Linked DNA regions of Homo sapiens: all the other regions are linked to region 1. Evidence: promoter capture Hi-C in 16 types of primary human blood cells and fetal thymus (Javierre and others, 2016). All regions are on one chromosome and are shown on one strand. Each heading gives the region's core, a stretch centred on a gene start or on the middle of the fragment in contact. The rest is flanking DNA. Distances are from core to core; before and after follow the strand shown. Region 1 holds the start of LEKR1 (leucine, glutamate and lysine rich 1). Region 2 has its middle 25 kb from the start of SSR3. Region 3 has its middle 25 kb from the start of LINC02029. Region 4 overlaps LEKR1 (leucine, glutamate and lysine rich 1). Region 5 overlaps LEKR1 (leucine, glutamate and lysine rich 1). Region 6 has its middle 29 kb from the start of TIPARP. Region 7 overlaps LEKR1 (leucine, glutamate and lysine rich 1).

Region 1 (3,085 bases), core at 261-2,760:
TTATAGTTGACCACTTGGTTGACTGTCCTCTAGGCCTCTTAATCCTTTCTTCTTTGAGGGAGTGGAAACAGAAAATCAAGGGTAGGCATTGGGGCAAAAATATCAGTCAGGTTAAATGTACAAGATACATCTACTAGACTTTTTTTTTTTTTTTTTTTTTTGAGACTGAGTCTTGGTCTGTCGCCCAGGCTGGAGTGCAGTGGCATTATCTCGGCTCAGGGTAAGCTCTGCCTCCCAGGTTCACGCCATTCTCCTGCCTCAGCCTCCCGAGTAGCCCAAGTAGCTGGGACTACAGGCGCCCGCCACCACGCCCGGCTACTTTTTTGTATTTTTAGTAGAGACGGGGTTTCACCGTGTTAGCCAGGATGATCTCGATCTCCTGACCTTGTGATCTGCCCGCCTTGGCCTCCCAAAGTGCTGGAATTACAGGCCCGAGCCACCGCGCCCAGCCACATCTACTAGACTTTTTAGTGCCAAGGAACAAGGCACTAGTGTTCAGTACTTCCTGGTGTCATTAATTAGTAGTTATCAATAAGCAGTTTGGTGTACCGATACTGCTCTGCGTCATTTAATCACTTCTCTAAATCTATAGGTTCAATTAATTTTCTTTGTATTTACTTAATCTTATTTTATTCAATAGCAAACCAGTCTCTTTGCCTGCTACAGAGCCATCGATGTTTTCTTTGGTTCTTGGAAGAACTGTACTTCGACCTTATATAATCCTCAGAAAGGCAAGATCTGGACTACGAATGAGTCACCTGCTAATTACACCAATGGCTGCTCCTGCCTTGACCAGTCACAGAGTATCACCCTATCTCGGTATGCTGCTCTGCTTGTCGCGTAGTAGGTCTATAAATACTTGTTTTATGAATGAATGTATGAACAAAGGGAAGTTAGTCACGTGTAAGGGTGGGTAGCCTGCGATAAATAAAGTGTAGACTAGGAGGTCTCAAAATACTTTTTGAACTAAGCCCTTAATCTTCACTACTTTGGACTAGAATGGAAATGTCACCAACGCCTTCCCAATTAATTTGTCCTGGCTGTAATGACTGAAACCAGAACTTCCCTTTACACCCATGACCTCTACAGGCATCTCTTTTTCCTCTGCTCAAGAACAGTAACTGCTCACTGCTGTGTCTACCACATAGGCCCCAGAGCAAGGGGTGATAGGTAGGGCTATAGGCTCCCGACTCCCGACTCCCGGCAGTGCCTCTCTCCAACCCCCCACGAGGCTGGGACAGCTCCCTCCATCTCAGCAGTCGCTACCAAGCACCCGACCCACTCTCGCCCACCTCATCCCTCGATCCCCTTCCCTCCCTCTCACAGCATTCCGCGTAAGACTAGCCCAGCCTTCCGAGCCCCACCACCAGTTTTCCCACTTCCGCCCGGCGCGTGAGACCCTGGGCGGTGCAGGGGAGCGTTGACGACAGACGTGGGCCGTGACGTCGCCGCGCCCTGACGTCCAGCCGACTGGCGGCGCGGTCGCCCGGGAGACCGGGAAAGCCGTTTCACACCCGTCCTAGTCGAAGTCGAGGTGAGGGACGATGGCTTTCCTCAGCCTGGGATGACCCGGTCCTCCAAATGCAGTTCCGGAGTGGAGGCGTGCTCGCACCCGGGGAGAGAGCCAGAAAGCTGAGCCGCGGCGCCCCAGCGAGAGCACGAGGCCCCGGGTCTGGACTCCGCCACCACGCTCCTCTGCGGCCCCTTCCTGGTGTCTGCCAGCCCGCGGGGCCCAGGCGCGGTCCGCCTTCCTCCCAGCCCCGGGGAACGCGCGGCTCTGCTTCCTCACCCCCGCACCCTCCTCCTCCTCCTCTTCCGGCCACTGCAGGTCCAGGGGGAACGGGGTTAGAAAGGGACAGATTTGAAAGCCATTCCAGCAGTTTTGTCTGGCCTTGCGGTTGGTTTCTGTGTGGAAGAGCCTGCCGCTTCAGGAAAGTCTTAGGATGTGAACTCCCGCCTTCACCTGCCCCTGACCTGCTCGTTGTGGGTGATTCACGCCATGGGAATGGTTCTTTACGTAAGGGCTTGAAAGCTGAACGTGAGTTAATGGCCTGACGTGACACTAGTGTGAGAAACGGAATTGGAAACGAACAAGGACGTGTCTGCATTTTAAAAAATGTCTTTTCGGTGATCTTGTTAGAGAGGAGGTTCACAAACACCCACGTAGCTGCAGCCACTTATCACTGCACCTCTTGCCAAAGTGCGGTCCACATACGTGCAATGAGAAAGGATTAAAGGGACTTGTTTGATAACACACGCAAAACTATGTAAGACTAAATTTAAAAAATTACAGATTTTCCCTGTTGCCAAAAGGGAAAGACCCTTCTTTTTTCTTGAGAAACTTAGTATTTGTGAATGCTTCCTCTATTTAATATGTATGCAAATGTTTTTAAAGACCTAGGAATGCTTTTCTTGAGGACCTGGAAGCCATTTCTTTAAAATGTAAACATCAAGGAAGATAGGGCCCCAGTCTCCTTGTCACTTTGGGAGTTTAACCTAGGTGCGTTATTCCTAATTGTAAACACCTGTTTCGTTATGGAGCTGTGCATTACTTAGGAGGAAAGCCGTTAGCTAACACAGGTGGTTACCCCAATTACCAGATGAATTAAAGAGGAAATATAAAAGAATGTATAGAACACTATGTTAAGCCCTCTTACATGAGGACACGTTACCAGTTTCCTTGAGAATGTGTAATGGATTGTGTCTCCTTGGCTGTATAAAAGAGGGATTTCCTTCTCTCTTTGTAACCTCATTAGCAGATTAGCCGTGATGTGCATCAAAGTCTAGTTGAATGCCTAATAAAATTGTTGTCTTTCTGCATTGTGGAGCATTTTCTGGGTTGGCAGGACTTTTAATTTTTAGTTTCCCCCCGATAATCAGAACCTGCCAATTCCTCCCCTTCTTATGCTAAGGCCATAAAGTTGGAATAGATTCACAGACAATGAAGGCACTACACAAAAACTGTTCTACTGGTGCTTTGTTTATACTGTCATTTAGATCCGTGCTCTCAGATAACTTTATGGGTGAAATTTTAAAAGGATGTTTAGATGGTAATTTTTTGGAAAATTCTCCCAATAGAGTTGAA
Region 2 (3,085 bases), core at 196-2,695, 250 kb before region 1:
ATTCTATAGGTCAATTTTTTTCCTACTTGACATTGTATAATACAGCTTCCCACTTTATTATAATGTCCTCATAAAGATTGTTTTTAATGTTTGCATTACATAATTTAATGAGGTCCCTATGGTTAAACATTTGTATTAATTTCTGATCTTTACTATCGTAAGGAACTCTGCCTTTCGTGTATTTATTCTTAAAGCTTTTACAATTTGTCACAATATTTAATAGATTAAGAAATATGAACGTTTTTGAGGCTATTGATTTAATTTGCTAAATTACTTTCTAAGTCGATTCCCTGTGGTCTGCGATGAGCACAGGCTTTGGAGTCACATCAGGTTGAATCACAGCTCCCTGGGCTGGAGAGAGACACTTAGAGGCCTTCAGCAACTATAAGTGTGTGGGGCTACCCACACACTCATTTAGGAAACTCAAATAAATACAACACCTAGCTGAAAATCGGTTGTGAGGATGGCTCATAATGAATGTTTCCCTGTGGTATCTACTTTAATGTTTTTATTTTTTAACATGAAATTGCAAATTCTATTTAAAATTTTTTTCTCAAAAATATTTTTTGAGGGGGGCCTCTACTTGACCAGCGCTATTGGCACATGTTTGGTTCATTTATGGAATCGTCTTTCCACAAAGGGTCCTTTGTACCAGTGAGACCTCAGCAAGTCAGTGGATCTCTTTAATCCTTATCCTTAAACTGCAGATAATAATAATACTCATTTCACTGGAATAAGGGTTAAATCCATTTGCTTGCTTTGCATACTGCTTGCCATGTAGTAAGCACTGGATAAATGATAGCTGCTGTTATTATTTTTAAAGAGCTACGGGAGTTTACATTCTCAAATGCCAGCAAAGTACGGCAGTACTCACCATCAAAAAAATCTTTTGTCATGTAGTAGTTTTTAAAAAACAGATTCTCAATCTTGCTTAATTTACCTTTCTTTGCTTACTAATGAGGCTGAAACTTTTCCATATGTTAATTAATTGGTTATATTCCCATTTAGAATTGCCGAAACTTCTTTTCCAAGTGTTAGTTAATTGTTTATATTCCCATTTAGAATTGTGTGTTCTATGGGTTCAAACCTCAGTTCTTCAATTTACTTGCACTATTTAGGCCTTTGGCAGTGAGCAATGGAACACCCAGTTTCCACAGGACTAAATATTAAGGAAATGTACTATCTCCCAAAAGAGGAAGTCCCTAAATAGAGCTGCATGGGGGAAGGGATGAGTATGATTAGGGCTCAGACCTTTTTCCCTGAGATGGTGTGGCTCTGCCCCACCCACTTGATCATGAGATCATGCACTTGCAAACATTCAGTTAAAAAAAAAAAACGTGCTATAAGTTGGACATTTCTAGTTGATCCAGGTAGAAACGGAGGGTCAGAGATGTGTAGAGGCATGCCTAGTCACTTATCTAATGAGGCACCTTATGTTTTTGCCTATGAGACAGCTATTTCTTCCCAGCCCCACCTCAGCCAGGTTCATAATCAAACTCTGATTTCCTTCAGATAGCCACTCCTCCATCCTCCATCACCCTGTGTTCAGGTGAAGACTTCCATGTATCACACTTACACACAACAGCATCCAGAAACAAAAAAAGGCACTGTCTGTTTATAAGGGCAAAAAATTATTTTCCAAAGCCCCTGAGATGATTTCTCCCTCTCTTGTGAGCCAGAATTTGCCACATATCCACTCCTAATCACTGGAATCACACCTTCCATTCCACATTGAGACGATTCAGAACCCACTTCCTGGTCTGGGGAGGAGGCCAGACTCCCTTGAACACAGGGAAAAAGTACCTGCAGGGAATCAGGGTTCAATTATGAACCTGGCTGCGGTGGGGCTAGGAAGAAACAGTTATTTCGTAGGAAAAAACAAAAGATGCTCCATTAGGTGAATTACTATGCACACCCCTATATAACTCTGACCCTGAGTTTCTACCTGGGTTGACTGGACACATCCACCTTGAAGTGTTTTTTTAACTGAATGTTTGCAAAGTATCCAGCACAGACCTGGCCTGGGGTAGATGTTTAGAAATTATGTTTTTGCTGATTTCAATTCATATGCATGAGCATTTTACATAATAAGCTGTTTTTCATATTGATGCAAAAGTTATTCTAAGTTTATTGAGAATGTTTTAATTAAAAGACTAAAACACTTATAGAAATTTATAATGTTTGTGTGGTCAAGTGCACTATTTTTTTCTTTTTTACATTTCTTCCAACACTTTCAAGTTCAGAAACTACCCCCGATCCCTTTTTACTTCCTCTCACTTACAACTACTACAAAGGCATATATTTTTTCATCTTGGTATTTTAAATTTGATTTGTTATGTTCTTTTTACTCCATATTGGATTTGGTACGATGTTAACTATAAAATGAGGATCTATTCTGATTTATTTCCTAAACATGTATTCAATTGTTTCAGTATCATTTACTAAATAATGATTTAACTCGTAGATTTTGATGCCTACTTTATGACAGATTATATTCTCACAACATCTCTCCTCATGAAAACCAGAGGAGTAGGGAAAAAGCACCCCACCCACACCCTTCTACACACACTGCAACCAAATCTATCAATTTAATAATTGACAGTTGTATAAAATTTAGTCTTTTCACCTGGTCAACTATTCTTCATTTTCTCAAATCTTCCTTTAGCGCATTCAGTAGATTTTCTGTAGTTTTGAACCAAGCTTGGGTATTACCTGGACTGTGAACAACCTAACCGGGAGAAACATCCAACATCCTGCAGAAACCCCATGACCAGCCACTGCGTGCCACTTCGCCACTTTGACAGTAGCACCAGAATTTAAGAACTCCTTCAAACTACAGAAAATCAACTGAATGAACGAAAAGAAGTCCTCACAATGCTGAGTCAGATTATTATAGTTATAGTAATTCTTTCCAACACTTGTAATTTGTAGCTCTTAGAACAGCATGCTGGAGTTTCCATGTGGCTGCCCCATGATTTTGTCCATGACAACTTCCTTATTTTTTTTTTAGCAATAAATATAGTACAAATTTGCACACCTTTTTTCATGTTCAGTTACCCTATCATTAGTACACTATGCAGCAGAG
Region 3 (3,085 bases), core at 586-3,085, 230 kb after region 1:
AAAAAGGCCCTGTGATGAAAAAAGACCAAAGACTCACAGCCCAAAAGCAACAGAGTATCAACAAGAACCTCAGCTGGGCATGGTGGCTCATGCCTGTAATCCCAGCACTTTGGGAGGCCAAGATGGGTGGATCACTTGACGTCAAGACTTCGAGACCAGCCTGGCCAACATGGTGAAACCCCATCTCTAATACAAAAATGAACCGAGCGTGCTGACACAAGCCTGTAGTCCCAGGTACTCAGAGGCTGAGGCAGGAGAATCGCTTGAACCCGGGAGGCGGAGGTTGCAGTGAGCCGAGATCATGCCATTGCACTCCAGCCTGGGTGACAGAGTGAGACTCCATCTCAAAAAAACAAAACAAACAAATAATAATCATAAAAAGAAACTGGACCTTCATTGCTGTGCCAACTGGGTGCTGCCCCTCAAGGCACCGAAGGCCACTTTGCTGGGAACATTCTAAGATGGCAAGTCTGAAAAAAAGGCTAAAAAAGTTTGTGTGAGTGGTGGTGGGGAGGGAGAGATGAGCAGTGGTGTTAGATCCTGGGACGTGGAATTCTCTCTGTGCAGCAATGATGTCAGAAGACTAAGCAGCATGTATAGAGAAGTTGGCTATGTTGGAAGATTCCAGGTACACCACAGTAGTAGCAGCAGCAGCAGCAGTATAGTAACAATAACATTATAGGAGCTGACAGGTATTATTTATGATGGGCAATGTATGGTGCTCAGGGCTTTAAACACTTTTAGACCTCAAAGAACCATGTGGTGTTGGTATGTTTACTGGTTTCCTTTTACAGATAAGAAAACAGAGCTATAGAAAAGTTAGCAATTCACTCAAACTGACACAGGTAAGAAGTGGCAAAGCCTGGATTAGGCAAATAGGCACAAATAAACTGGGAACTGGACTAGAGGCTATGCACATCATCTTGCCCTCCAGTTGTGCCTCTGAGAAGGAATATGCTGCTCAACCCTGAGCAAATTTGAAGACATCTCTGTGTCCTTTTGGTGACCAAACAAACAAACAAAGAACTCAGAAACTATGGCAAAAAGCATTACAGAACAAAATAAAGAAGTAGCACGTAGGACCAAGAAAAAAAAAACCCATGGAAAGGATCCACTGTGGAATCTTATAAGGATCCTTTAGGAAGCTATTTAGCATCCTGTCGAAGCACGATATTATAGACCGCATTCCTTTTTTAAAATATCACTTTCTATATTAAGTCTTGAGGTCTTGAACTTTCTGCTTCATTTCTTTAAAAAAAAAATGGTATTCCATCTCTAGCCTTAAAAATACCAGGTCCTCCTAAATACAAAGGAGAAAAAGTATTAATATAGGAGTGAAAGGAGAAGGAGAACTAACAAACAACACAGCAGTTCACAAGATAAAATTCTCAGATAAAGTCAAAGGCCAAATTTTACAAGAATAAAAACATGTTCTAAATCTAGTAACCGTAAGAGCGCTCTTGAAAACTGTCTATAAACGTCCATTTTTGAGAGACAGGCCTTCAAAAGTTTAAAGCTTCTTTTATGGAATAAAGCCTTTTATTCCCAAAGGACATCTACGCTACTTATTCACTGTTAGTAGCAGTATGAAATTAACACTCATGATTTTAGAGTGTGTATAAACTCCCATTGTTTTGTTATCATGCAGAGGATCTTAAAACTCTATCTTTGTTCTTTTTGCTTTGATTTATTTCTACCTTCTTATGTGCTTTCTATTTTTCTAGCTTTCTGCCCTGTCTCTTGCCATCTTTTTTGTTTTCTTCTTTTGCTTATTCCTCTCCCCACCTCCTCTACCTTCTGCTTCTTTGGAAGCAATTATCTCTATTTTAATTTTAGGAGTTACCATAGACATGTTAACGTGCTTGCTTAAAGTTAATTTCTTGATGCTGTACCCAAGCAATGCAGGAACCATAGAATACTTTATAATTTTTCATCTTCTTCCATTTTGTATTATACTTTGGCTAGTATTTGGATTCTATATTGTTTTTTAATCTCACAAATTAGATATTATTATTATTTTTACATGTAGCCAATGTTTATTTAGCTTTACCCAATGTATTTTTTGATTTATTTGTCCACAATTTTTTCTCACATCTCAGACCTTCCTGCATCTGGCCTCATAATCTTACTGCCTAAAGCAATTATTTCTTTCCAAAAGCTTTATTTGATTTTCTTCAATGTGCTAGATTTTGTAAAAACTATTATTCCTTGCTTGTAAACTTTTCATTTCTTTAAACACATCAAACTTGCTATTTTATATTCCGAGTCTAATAATCTTTATGGATCTGATTTTACTGTTTATTGTTTTTGATGGTTCTCATTCATGGTGCTTTGTTTTCCCGTGCTCATCCTCAAGGCGGGCTAGATCTTTCTCAAGGAAAGGTGACTATGTGTATATGTGTTTCAATGTGAAGTTGTGTCCCTTGGAACCTTATCTATAAGAATTCTTTGAGACCTAATTGAGATTGCATTTTTCCAGAGAAGATTTGCATTTGTCCCTCCCAGTTAATTATACAAACATTCTGAGACCACTTCAATTAAAATTCTTTTTTGATTTTTCATATGTGGGGGATATAAATTCATACAAAAAGCCAGGTGAGGGTCAGGTTGTAGTTACAGATTCTGAAGTGAGATTTTCTACTACAGTCAGCCCTCTGTATCTGTGGGTTCCATATCATGGATTCAACCAACCAGTGATTAAAAGAAATAAACAATAAAAAATAACAATGCATTAATTTTTAAAAGACAAAGTTTTTAAATGCAGTATAACAAGTATTCACATAGCATTTACATTGTATTAGGTATCTTAAGTAAATCTGGAGATGATTTAAAGTATACGGCAGTAAGTATGTACATTATATGCAGATTCTATGCCATTTTATATAAGGGACTTGAACATGGTATCTGTGAGAGTCTTGGAACCAATCTCTCAAGGATACCAAGGGACAACTGTATAAATTTCAAGTGAGATTGTGTTTACCATCGCCACTGGCCAAAGACATGCAGTGCCTCTCCACTCTGTTCTTCCCCTTCAGTGCACATGGCAAAGGCCTAGAAATGTTACAAGTTGGGCTGGGTGTGAGTG
Region 4 (3,085 bases), core at 184-2,683, 210 kb after region 1:
AAAATTAAGACAAAGCAGATTCTAGCTTAAACTTAGTAACAGGTGCCTAGTACACTTCTGTTTATTCCCCAAGTCTAAGTGCAAGGAGAACCCCTCCATGAATCCACAAAATCCCAGAGGCAAAATTAGCTATACACCTGTGTGCCTACTGCAGTTGCTTATTTATGCATTCATTTAACAGGTAAAGAGTTTTGTTGTTTTTATAGATGCTAAGGAAAAAATAAATCAGGGTAAAAGGGATACTTTCTGAAGGAGGGGTGCTATATTAGATGGGGTAGTAAGAGGACTCTGAGGAAATAATGAGGCAAAGAGCATTCCAGGGAAAGAACACTCCAGGCAAAGGTAATAGAAAGACTCTGCAGCAAGGAACATACTGGGAACCTTAAAGAAGCCACAAGGAAGTCAGCAAGCACTGCTGGAGCTTAGTGAGCAAGGATAGTGATAGAAACCAAGGTTGAAGGGCCAGTTCACATGGAGTCTTCGTAGGCTATGATAAGGTCTTTGGATACTTTGCTAGGTGTGATAGAAAGCCACCTAGGAATTTCGAACAAGGAATTGACATGATCTGACTTATTTTTAGAGGATAACTGACTTCTGTGTAGAAAATAGGTTGAAGAGGGCAAAAAAGAGAGCAAGGCTGTGAAGGAGGTGACCAATCACCAGATTTGGGATATATTTTAGGGGTGAAGGCAATAGAGGTTGCTGATTGATTGGATGATATGAAAGCATAAAAAGGAGTCAAGGATAACTCCAAAGCTTGGAATCTCAGCAACTGAGAGAGTGCTGAGATGGGAAATGCTAGAAAAGAAATACAATTGGGGAGGAATATCAAGAATTTTATTTGGGACATGTTGATCTTAATATGCCTGTTAGATACCCAAGTGGAGATGTTGACTAGGCAATATGTCCATAGGGAAGGCAAGCTGGAGATGTCGATTTTGGACAATTCCACATGTAGCTGATACTTAACCCTTGGGACTGAATGAGATCACCCAGAGGATGAGGTAATAGAGCAAGGGTTGAGAACAGGCACTCTTAACTTTTAGAGCCTGGGAAGAGGAGTAGAATCTAGCGATGGTGACAGAAAAGGAACTTCTGGTGAGGTGGGAAGAAAACCGGAAGAGAACACTATCAAGGACTCTAAAGAAAGACTGTATTTAAAGAAGGGTACATGCAATATAGACAGGCCCACAGTCCCTTATCTGAAAACTTTGTGCTCAGATATAAAATTATTTTGAATTTTAGAAAGTTAGTAAGTACAGTATGTCCTCATAGATGTAGGGCAGCCTCCCCATGCAATGACATTAATACTTCTGCAGTGAAACATCTGAATGTTCACATGAAATAGAATAAAGACTGTAATTAGCCTCCTATCAGTTCAGTCAGATTTTATCACTAACTGTGATGAGCTACAGCATTTTTTTCTTTTCAGAGCTTTTTGGATGTCAAAAGTAAGGCTAAAGGACTATAGATCTGTATTGGCTTTCATTAAAACAGCTGTTTTTATTGTTTATTGCCCAACAATCTCCTAGCATCTCGAATCTCTTTTGTTTAAAAAACAAAGGAAAGTACATGTGTATCTCTACAGGGCTACCAAGATGATAGGAAAAAATCAAGGATTTGCCTCCTATTAACAGTGGTTACCTTAGAAGTGTAGGAAGAGATAGACAGGGGTTTTACTTCTTACATACTTTTTAAAAACATTGGCATCATGGGTTATTTTTAACATTTTGGTGTTTTGAAAATATGTTTCCAATGTAAACTCTATTTTTAAAAAAAGAAAGAAAGAAATTCCATTTACATAAGAAAGTTCAGGCCAAGTGTGGTGGCTCACGCCTATAACCCAGCATTTTGGGAGCTCAAGATGGGAGGATTGCTTGAGCTTGGAGTTCAAGACCAGCCTGGGAAACATAGGGAGACCCTGTTTTTACAGAAAATACAAAAATTAGCTGGGCATGGTGGCACACGCCTGTAGTCCCAGCTACTTGGGAAGCTGAGGAAGGAGGACTGCTTGAGCCTCGGGGGTTGAGGCTATAATGAGCCGTGATCGTGCTTCTGTACTCGAGCCTGGGCAACAACCTGAAACCCTGTCTCAAAAAACGAAAAGAAAAAAGCTTATTAACAAATCTAGCAAAGACGGATTCATGTAAACTCTAAGATTAAATTTTAATAATACATGGTATTTGCAAGCACAAATAGTTTATTTGCAAGAGGGACTTGCTTAGTTTTAGGGTAAGCATTTATTACATTTGCATGTTTAATCAGTATACAGAATATGGCACACACTTCTCTGGTAATTCCTTCTATGAGAATGGAGAAGCCAAAGTACCAGCAAGTAAATTACCAAAAAGTAGTTCTCAGTTTGGGAACATAATAAATTAGAATATTTACGTCTTTTTTAAAGAGTAAGAGGGTAAAGGGAGGTTCTCCAACCTCCAGCAGGAAACATGGGGAGGATCAAGAAAGCTTTTAGGGACAGGGACTATACCTAGGCTTGGTTGGCAGGGAGGATGAGTGAACTGACCACCTGAGAACCTTAGCCTTGGGCCATGGGGCAGAAGGGGGCTCAGACTGGGAGTCTCTGTGGTGAGGAAGATACCAGAAAGTTGACAGAATGAGAAGATATATTGAGAAATTTTTGTATATTTAATTAGTGCTAGTTAAATTTTGTATGTTTAATTAGTGCTAATTAAATCTAAATTAAGTTGGATTATTGACTTAGAAAAGTAAATGTTGAATACTTTGTCATCATGGGCTCTTCCTCTCTGTCCTGAAAATCTGCCTCTGAAGCATATCAGTCTGAGGGATTATTGCCCTCTGTTGCTACAACTTTTGTTTGGGTATGTCTATTGCAGTTGGTTTTATTATGTTTGTAAGCAGGGAAATATAATTTTGAAAACAACCAGCCTGACATCCATCTTACTTGTTTCCTGGAAATCTTTTCAGATTCTCATTCTTCTCTTACCAAAAGGCCATTTCCACTAACTTTTGGCAGTGTTTTGGACTGATCAGATTAGTTGAACAGAAGCCTGGAAGCCTTTGAATGGAAGCTGGGAACATCCTTTGCTAACTCCCACTCATCTTT
Region 5 (3,085 bases), core at 219-2,718, 190 kb after region 1:
TTAACAAACTTGACCTAAATTATATTTATAGAATTCTCAATTTGACAGCAGAATACACATTCTTCTCAAGTGCACATGAACATCTTACCAAAATCGACCATATTTTGGCTTATAAATAAGTCTCAATAAGTTTAAAAGGATTCACATCATACAAATATTTTCTCTGACCACAATGAAATAAAATTAGAAATCGTTAGCAGAAAGTTATCTGGACAATCCTTAAATATTTTGAAACTAAATAAATACCAAGACCACGCCCTGAGCCCACTATGCTGTACAGATGTAGGGGTTGGGGGGACAGCTTACATGAAAAAAAAACTAAACACACTGAGCTATAGAGTTCACCGGCAACACCTGAGTATACACATTGTTTCCACCTTGTAGTTGCTCTATGATCTTGGTGAAGTTACTTACTTCTCTGAGCCTATCTCTTAATCGAGACAGTGGGAGTAATACTTCTATTATTCTATGTTATTCTTAGAGTTGTAAGAATTAAAAGAGTTAATATATAGAAAGTGTCCTATACCATACCACCCTAGCTTGTATTCATTTACTCAGTGAACATTCTCTCCTTCCAACCTAAGTTCACATAGTTCTTGACAGGATTTGACCTGCAGCCTACATATTCTGATTCCTTAGCATTCATTTTTTAACTGCAAATTCTGTTTTGAATAATCATCTGCTTTTATTATTTATTCAGTAGCTATTTCAGAAATAATCTAAAGTACTGTAATAATTTGCAATCAGTATTCATTTTTAAGTTTTGTAAAATAGTACAATAATTTATTTTAGGAGCCATATCTTTAAAAATTATATATGCATATCAAATATAAGCAAATTATTTGATTCCTACTTTGGCATCTAAAATTCCCATTGGTTTTAAAGGTATCATTGAGTAATAAATGGTCATATTATAACATGGTGTTTGGCTCCATGTTCAATAAGAAAAATGATAATAACAAAGTCAACCACAAAGACCTCGCTTGGAAAATAGTGAAAAGGCAGTATTTTGCATATTGGTATTAAATACAGATTTTATAAAGTACTAATTATGCATTTCAACAACAAATACAAAAGAAATTTAAAAACAATGCTCTGAATGCTCTGGAGTCATCCGGTGGCCTTCACCAAGGAGATGGAGTTTCAGCTAGAAGAGGATATAGATAAATAAAAACCAAAAATAATTAAAACCTGGGATGTGTACAAAGATAATAATTGATTTTACTTTGTGTAATTCTTAAGTTAATATTATTCATGCTTTTTTAGAAATCATAATTTTCTTCTTATCAAAATTACTATTAGTTATTGTATAAAGTGGTTCATGCTTTATATGTACACCATCAACAAATTTATTTATTTTGCTCAAACATAACTCCTGTCATCTAAAATATTTTAAATTATCAGCTCCTATCAACATTTAAAAATAAAAACATGGCAATTTGGCATGAATGCACCTACTGAAAGGCAAATAATGTACCCCTTAAGCAAATCGTTGTGTTTATGGGCTCATAATTTTGTTCAAACTAATCAGATCATGAAGGAACCAGTAATCTCATTTCTCTGTGCTAACACGTCAACACATTCAGATGGCTCTTAGCATCCCACTGCAGCTTTCCTAAGTGTTTGAAATCCCATGTGAAAACTCATCACTCTGCTTCTTTTTCTCAGATTGTGCAAATTAAAAACAAAGCTAGTAATAGTCAATCATTCTTCTCCCTTTTGTCTACAGTGCTTGTTCTTTCCCACTGTCCATATATTTATTCCTTCCTTGTTTTCTCTCTTTACCTACAGTAGTTCAAAGAATAGTTCAGGGGCAACAAGATCTTGCTTTCTAACTCGAGTAAAACAGAACATTCAGCTCATTCAAGCCATCAGCCATCACCTTTTCTTCCCTGAATATTTTATTTCAACTTCATCAAAGGGACCCTGCTGATTTTCTTTTATTATTATTATTATTATTATTATTATTATTATTATTATACTTTAAGTTTTAGGGTACATGTGCACAATGTGCAGGTTAGTTACATATGTATACATGTGCCATGCTGGTGTGCTGCACCCATTAACTCGTCATTTAGCATTGGGTATATCTCCTAATGCTATCCCTCCCCCCTCCCCCCACCCTACATCAGTCCCCAGAGTGTGATGTTCCCCTTCCTGTGTCCATGTGTTCTCGTTGTTCAATTGCCATCTATGAGTGAGAACACGCGGTGTTTGGTTTTTTGTCCTTGCGATAGTTTACTGAGAATGATGATTTCCAATTTCATCCATGTACCTACAAAGGACATGAACTCATCATTTTTTATGGCTGCATAGTATTCCATGGTGTATATGTGCCACATTTTCTTAATCCAGTCTATCATTGTTGGACATTTGGGTTGGTTCCATGTCTTTGCTATTGTGAATAATGCCGCAGTAAACATACGTGTGCATGTGTCTTTATAGCAGCATGATTTATGGTCCTTTGGGTATATACCCAGTAATGGGATTGCTGGGTCAAATGGTATTTCTAGTTCTAGATCCCTGAGGAATCGCCACACTGACTTCCACAATGGTTGAACTAGTTTACAGTCCCACCAACAGTGTAAAAGGGTTCCTATTTCTCCACATCCTCTCCAGCACCTGTTGTTTCCTGACTTTTTAATGATTGCCATTCTAACTGGTGGGAGATGGTATCTCATTGTGGTTTTGATTTGCATTTCTCTGATGGCCAGTGATGATGAGCATTTTTTCATGTGTCTTTTGGCTGCATAAATGTCTTCTTTTGAGAAGTGTCTGTTCATATCCTTCACCCACTTTTTGATGGGGTTGTTTGTTTTTTTCTTGTAAATTTGTTGGAGTTCATTGTAGATTCTGGATATTAGCCCTTTGTCAGATGAGTAGGTTGTGAAAATTTTCTCCCATTTTATAGGTTGCCTGTTCACTCTGATGGTAGTTTCTTTTGCTGTGCAGAAGCTCTTTAGTTTAATTAGATCCCATTTGTCAATTTTGTCTTTTGTTGCCATTGCTTTTGGTGTTTTAGACATGAAGTCCTTGCCCATGCCTATGTCCTGAATGGTAATGCCTAGGTTTTCTTCTAGGGTTT
Region 6 (3,085 bases), core at 187-2,686, 180 kb before region 1:
TTTGCTGTTGATGAGATAGATACAGTGCTAAGGGTAAGACAGTGTGTTCAAAATAGTGAGGATACATAGGATGAATTTGTTTTAAACAATATTTTAGTTATATTTCCAAATAATATGCTGAATATTTTTTTCTTCAACCTCCAGACCGCCTTTCAGGTGAAGCATCTCTAAAAATAATGCAATGGGTCCAATTGTTGATCTGAAAAAAGTACAATAAAAACACTACAAGAGCATCCAGAAGTCTGGAAACACAGGTGAAATTGTGCACTTCTTGTTTCAGATTTACAGCTAAATCCACTGCCTTAAATGTAGAGATTCATCACCTGAAACATGGTTGAAAACAAAAATATATTGAGTATTTTTTAAATGTGAATACCATAATTTTAAAATGCCATTTTCTCCTATGCTTTGTCCTGTAATTTAAAAAATTTAACAAGTGGACACTATGATTGGTGTACATTCCTGCCTACAATCTTCCAAGTTAATTGGATTAATGTAAGAGCTACTTATCTACACATAAACCATCCTATGAAAAAGGCTGACCATTTCAAATTAGGAGTGAGCTTCTAATATTTATCAGAAAATACCAAAACTGAGCTTGATTTGGAGCTTTGCATTATAGTGAAATCCTGAAGCCTCCAATAAGAGTAGGAAAGGGTCACAGTATCCTATTTCTCTTTTACTCTGAAAATAAAATTCTAATTACATAAATATTCTGTCTGTATTACACAATAAATCTAAATAACTGAAAGAAAACTTTTGCCTACAATCTTGTCACCTCAGCAAATCCAACTTTTTGTTTGGCCCTGATCTTTTCTAGCCATTGTGGATAATCACAGTGGGTGCCTTCTGCCATTTTCAATTAATACAATTTCAGAAGCATGTTCCATGTTGCTGTGTAGTCCTTGTAATCTACATTTTAATAGCTACATCATCTTTTACATTATTTTCCTGTTGTCCAACATACATTTCATAATCTTTTCTATAAGAAATAATGCAGCGAATCTTTGTCTATTTGGCTTTTTTTCCCTTACGAATTACTTGTTCAGAATCTATTCTAAGAGGTAGGATCAAAGGTCAAAACCCTGGATATGAGGAGGTTTTTATTTCTTCTAGTGACTAAGGAACTCTGAAGGTTCCACCCACAGCCTCCCACCTTTTACATTTGAGATAGACATTTCTCCATCAGAAATGTATCCAGCCACTGCAGCAGCCCCACTGGAATGCTGGGACAAGCTCATGGTTCATTTTCGGGAAAGTAGAGGCTTAAACAGTATGATTTAACCCATACAAGCTTGTTATATGTTACACATAGTTCCTACAAGAAGTATCAACAACACTTTAAGATTATAATAATTTCACTGAAAAAACAACTCATAATCAAGTGGTGACATTGAAAGAGTTGTGTGCCCCTTTAATAAACACAAAATAGTCCTCATTTTTGTTTTAATTTGCATTTCTTTTACCACTAGTGAGGATGAAATCCTTTCCATGTATTTGTTTACTGGTTAGTTCCTCTTGGAAGAGGCATCTCTTTCCTCAGCTCATTTTGTATGAGCATTTTATAGAACACAGATTTTAAGCTTTTTCGTTAACGCTAGTGATATTTTCCAGTTTCTTTTCCCACTTTAATGTAATTTTAAAGTTATATTAATGAGCTATATTCACCTTCCGTTCTCACAGAATTGCTTCAGAAAACTTTGGATACTGGTTTTTATTCAAAGGGCAGATACAAATCACTAATATGCATGTTTCCAAAGGCAACAATAGAAAAGTATCAAGTGTTTGCATTTTTATAACATGCCAGGTATAAAGAATAGAAATGTTTTTTGTCAATGCTAAATTTATAAGTTTAACTCACTTTTTTGCACAGTATAAAAAGAACAATCAATTAAAATAGACTAGGACTCTGGGGAACCTCGAGGTAGGTCATGGGGTTAGAGACTTTGGAATGTGGAGAGACAGGAGCTGGGCTTTCTTGGGATGGCATAAGATAAAGGCATGTGATGCAGGATGGATATATGCAGGTGGACTGGCAAGCAATAAGATAAAAGAACATTTTCCTTTCTCTCATCTTTCCCATTTACTTTTCCTTACCCCTTTCTTATCACTGCATCTGATTTCCTTAAGAAGTAGTTTGCAATTATTTTTAATATCTTGCTTCCTTTCCTTTCTTTCTGCTCATTCCTTCCCAGCTCCTTTCTTTTCCTTTTCTCATTTGATGGCAGTATAATACAATTACAGTAGGGTCAGACAATCTGGGACCACGCCTTACCATTTCATATTGTTTGACTTTTGCCAGGTTACTCTCTGAGCCTTAGTTTATTCATCTCTAAAATAAAACAATAATAGTACCTATTTCTAGAAGGCTGTTATGAAGACAAAAGGAGAAAATATTTGAGTGCTTAGTACAGTATAGTAGACTACTTTATTGTTCACAAATATTTGGTGTTTCTCCCTGGGGGAGCATTAGACTTCCCAACCCCACTGATGTCAGCCTAGGCCATGAGATTTGATTTAACCAATGAAATATGAGTGAATGTGACACATGACATTTTGAGGAAGAAGACTGAAGAGCCAATACACCATTTGTCATGTTTCTCTTTTCCCTCTACCATAATGACCTGCAATGTTCCAGACAGCTATTGCTCCATTCCTCAAAGTCACATAGTAAAGAAAATATAGACTAAAATCAGAGCCAGCATACAATAAAGATCTAAAATAGCAAAAAAGAAACCTTTGTTATTACAAGTTATAAGTCACTGAGCTTTGGGGATTGCTTGTTATCACAGCAAACCTAGGCAATACTGACTAATGAACACAATATATGGCATATTGAAAGTGCTTAACATTCATTGCTAATATTATTCATGATTATTCTCTTTTCTCCTTTTATCCTCCTACCATAAATCCTAACTCTGCCTCATGGGGTGAAGTAAAAATTGAGGAAAGAAGTAGATCAGAAGCTTTGAAGAGTTTTTTTCCAGGTGATGGTAGGACCAGCCACTGGGAAGGAGTCATATTCAGCAGACATAGGAAAGAAAAAAGAGTTCCTGAAGATTCCATTATTTATCTGTAACTAATA
Region 7 (3,085 bases), core at 392-2,891, 180 kb after region 1:
TTCTTGCTCAGGGTGACATCATTGGCAAAGACAGAAATCAAGCTCTGTTGGGTCTGACCTTATAACTCATGTTCTCTTCTCTACTGTTTGCACAATTCCCTAAGTATTTGTCTTGAAGGGCTAAGTTTTGTCATCCTTTCTCAGTGTGACATCTTTCTGAACCATGTTGTAACACTGAGTCTTTAGGAGACTCACAGCCCTGCAGAAAGCAACGCTCTTTTTGTGTCCCTTCTCCTCTCCTCTCAATTTCTTGTTCACCCCCAACCCCCTCAGTATTCTTCTCTTCACTCAATAAATATGAGATGGTGTCCTCTGCTTTCTAGTGCCTTGGTAGAATAAGAAGTAAAGCTATATCTTCAGATGGAAAATAGAATAAAAATAATTCACAACTGCATTCTAAAAATGTAAACTGTTTACTTATTTCATTGAGGCTTGTTATATTTTCATAAATTCTAGAAGCAATGACTAGTGATTAGCTATATCTAGTATTAGATAAGAAAAAGGATTAAGAAGTGATGCAAGATAAAGTCCATTCTTAGTTTAAAAAGAATGGACTTTAGAATTAGGTAAACATAGAGTAAATCCCAACTTGACCACTGTTAAGCTTGGGCAATTAAGGCTTCTTTTCCCTATCTGTAACGTGGGCATTTTAATAATAGCTATCTTCTTAAGAATTTTAAAATATTGTGCCTGGTAGGTTGTAGGTACTCAGAAAGTATTAGTTTCCTCTCTTTCATCTTTCTTTAGATTGCTAACATCTTAAAGCACCATGTCTTATTAATTTTTATTCCCTGCACCGGCCATGTAAGATATTCAGTAAATATCTGTTGAATTCATTATTATCTGCTTTACTCATACAGTTGTAAAGATTAATCCTTGGAGTGATTCCATTTGGATGCTGATATGGTTAGGCTTTGTGTCCCCACCCAAATCTCATCTTGAATTGTAATTCCCATAATCTCCAGGTGTCAAGGGAGAGAATAGGTGGAGGTAATTGAATCGTGGGGGCAGTTTCCCCAATGCTGTTCTTGTAATAGTGAGTGAGTTCTCAAGACATCTAACAGTTTTATAAGGGGCTCTTCCCCCCTTTTCTTGGCACATCTCCTTCCTGCTACATTGTAAAGAATGTGCCTTGCTTCCTCTTCATCTTCTGCCATGATTTGCCATAAGTTTCCTGAGGCCTCCCCTAGCCATGCTGAACTTTGAGTCAATTAAACCTCTTTCCTTCGTAAATTACCCCGTCTCAGGTATGTCTTTATAGCAGTGTTAAAACATACTATTACAGATGCTAATCTGTTAGTTTAAAGCATTATGAAATGTTCTAAGTAATAATTGAAAACAATAAATTTTATCAGGTTTTTTCTCCAAGACTCACCTCTTTCTCTGATTTCCTATCCATCAACAGCTCTCAGAACAAGAGGCTTGCCAAGCTTCTTATGTTATCACACACTCACTTCTTTTAACAGAGGCAGGAGTTGTGGCAAAATCAAAATTATCTCTTTGATTGACAATGTGAAGACATCTCTAAGAGAACAACTTGTGAAACAGAATTTAAAACTGTCATTTTGGCATTATGGTTTGACATTTGTTTGCAGTTATGTTTTTAACTGCAATTAAGGGAATCTGGATTCGCATGTACATAAGAAATAAGATTCTCATTTTCCTTTTGGTCCAATAATTTAATAAAGTTTTTAAAATAAATACTCTTAATTGTGAATAAGTCCTAATTGTGGCAACTCCAAAAATTTTAATTTTAAACCTATCTGGTGAAATTGCAGGGTAGAATGTCAATAGCCACACCTCCATCTGAGATATGCAAAGCAAAGACAGCATGACATACTGCTGGCTGGCATAAGCTTGAGTTAGCTTTGTCACTTGTGAATCATGTCACCTCAGATAGTCATTTATCACTCAGGTCTTCATTTCTTCTAAAACGGAGGGAGTTGTATTAACATATTTCTAAGGAATGAAAAGAAAGAACCACTATATCCCCAGAGAATAAAACAGTGCCAGACACATAGTCAGCTCTCAATATTTGCTGTAGGGATGGATGCATGCATGGATGGGAATGAATTTAATTTCTATCAAACAACTGATCATGGAATTTAAAACTGGGAAGCTCCAGTTTTTCTTTCAGGCCAGAGAGCTTTTGACTTTCAAAAATCAGACCTAGGAGTACAATGAGAACTCCTGGATTCTAATGGTAATCTTCTTTATTAGATTCTTAGTAAAATTTAAATTTAGAATCTAAATCTGTGTCGTTTCCTATAATTCTAAAACATCAACATCTCTTGAACTGGTTCTAGAAAAAGAAGTCAGATACCTAAATAGCTATACATTTTCAGCTACTTATAACATGGAAAAATATGTACTATGCCTTTACAATAAATATTTTATTTCTTACAATTCCTCTAAATTTCTAGCAAAAAGTCCTACGTGAGTCAGAGTTGGTTCTTCATAGTTTTTTTCAACACAAGATTGTTTTCTCTTTATCAATGGCCTAAGATTGTTTTATGATCTTGAACAATGTGTGAGCAGCCCCATGGTTGTACTGTACAAGTGTGATTTTTATTTTTGGAATCTAGATTATCTTTTTCACACATATAATCATTCCTGTATACGTTACTCACTGCCCATTCCATTCTAATCAAGAACAATGAGTGCATATAACATCACGTATAATTATTCTTTCTGCTTTATCCCATTAAAGAGTCTCACTGAAGATTTCTTAGAGTCAGGAATGGAGGCTCAGCAGGGAATCAAAGCGGTATAAAAGTCCTTCTCATTTCTGTAACCATAATATCAAGCAAAATTACCATCACAGATACAAATTTATATTTTTATAACAATTTACTCAAAACACCATATACTTTGTTAGAAATGTCATAAAGAACTTCATAATTCCTTGAAAATTCAGTGAATAATTATCACTTCATTAACATTGTTTGCATCCTAGCTTACTATATTTTAGCTGCTATAATCTACTAGACTTTTTAAGTTTTTCTTCCAAAAGGTTACATTTAACATGAGTTCCATGTACTGAGTCCATCAGAGGAATGCATTTGGAATGGATTCTACTTTTTAT

Evidence for each region. Contacts are between HindIII fragments. The CHiCAGO score rates a contact against its expected background, and 5 or more counts as called.
Region 2: a contact is called between a fragment that was not itself captured here and the fragment with the promoter of LEKR1 in region 1, in 3 of 17 cell types (non-activated CD4 T cells, monocytes and M2 macrophages). The highest score is 7.4, in non-activated CD4 T cells.
Region 3: a fragment that was not itself captured here is called in contact with the fragment with the promoter of LEKR1 in region 1 in 10 of 17 cell types (total B cells, non-activated CD4 T cells, naive B cells and 7 more); the score reaches 12.8 in total B cells.
Region 4: a fragment that was not itself captured here is called in contact with the fragment with the promoter of LEKR1 in region 1 in 1 of 17 cell types (total B cells); the score reaches 8.4 in total B cells.
Region 5: a contact is called between a fragment that was not itself captured here and the fragment with the promoter of LEKR1 in region 1, in 1 of 17 cell types (total B cells). The highest score is 7.8, in total B cells.
Region 6: a contact is called between a fragment that was not itself captured here and the fragment with the promoter of LEKR1 in region 1, in 1 of 17 cell types (non-activated CD4 T cells). The highest score is 5.3, in non-activated CD4 T cells.
Region 7: a contact is called between a fragment that was not itself captured here and the fragment with the promoter of LEKR1 in region 1, in 1 of 17 cell types (total B cells). The highest score is 5.5, in total B cells.

The regions. Positions count from the first base shown.
Region 1 is chr3:156,824,843-156,827,927 of GRCh38, forward strand. It overlaps LEKR1 (leucine, glutamate and lysine rich 1), which reads left to right and starts at 1,511. Exons shown (of 13, transcript NM_001004316.3): 1 at 1,511-1,534. RefSeq lists an enhancer at 1,984-2,043 and a silencer at 2,358-2,652. The HindIII fragment of the contact is 11,302 bases long and covers 1-3,085 here.
Region 2 is chr3:156,578,309-156,581,393 of GRCh38, forward strand. No RefSeq gene overlaps it. Among named protein-coding and RNA genes, the nearest start is that of SSR3, 25 kb to the left of the region's middle. The HindIII fragment of the contact is 2,506 bases long and covers 193-2,698 here.
Region 3 is chr3:157,055,533-157,058,617 of GRCh38, forward strand. No RefSeq gene overlaps it. Among named protein-coding and RNA genes, the nearest start is that of LINC02029, 25 kb to the right of the region's middle. The HindIII fragment of the contact is 642 bases long and covers 1,515-2,156 here.
Region 4 is chr3:157,037,525-157,040,609 of GRCh38, forward strand. All of the region lies in intron 12 of LEKR1 (leucine, glutamate and lysine rich 1), which reads left to right. Among named protein-coding and RNA genes, the nearest start is that of LINC02029, 43 kb to the right of the region's middle. The HindIII fragment of the contact is 1,358 bases long and covers 755-2,112 here.
Region 5 is chr3:157,018,316-157,021,400 of GRCh38, forward strand. All of the region lies in intron 10 of LEKR1 (leucine, glutamate and lysine rich 1), which reads left to right. Among named protein-coding and RNA genes, the nearest start is that of LINC02029, 62 kb to the right of the region's middle. The HindIII fragment of the contact is 7,622 bases long and covers 1-3,085 here.
Region 6 is chr3:156,644,374-156,647,458 of GRCh38, forward strand. No RefSeq gene overlaps it. Among named protein-coding and RNA genes, the nearest start is that of TIPARP, 29 kb to the right of the region's middle. The HindIII fragment of the contact is 289 bases long and covers 1,293-1,581 here.
Region 7 is chr3:156,999,879-157,002,963 of GRCh38, forward strand. The region is part of intron 9 of LEKR1 (leucine, glutamate and lysine rich 1); the gene reads left to right. Among named protein-coding and RNA genes, the nearest start is that of LINC02029, 80 kb to the right of the region's middle. The HindIII fragment of the contact is 426 bases long and covers 1,429-1,854 here.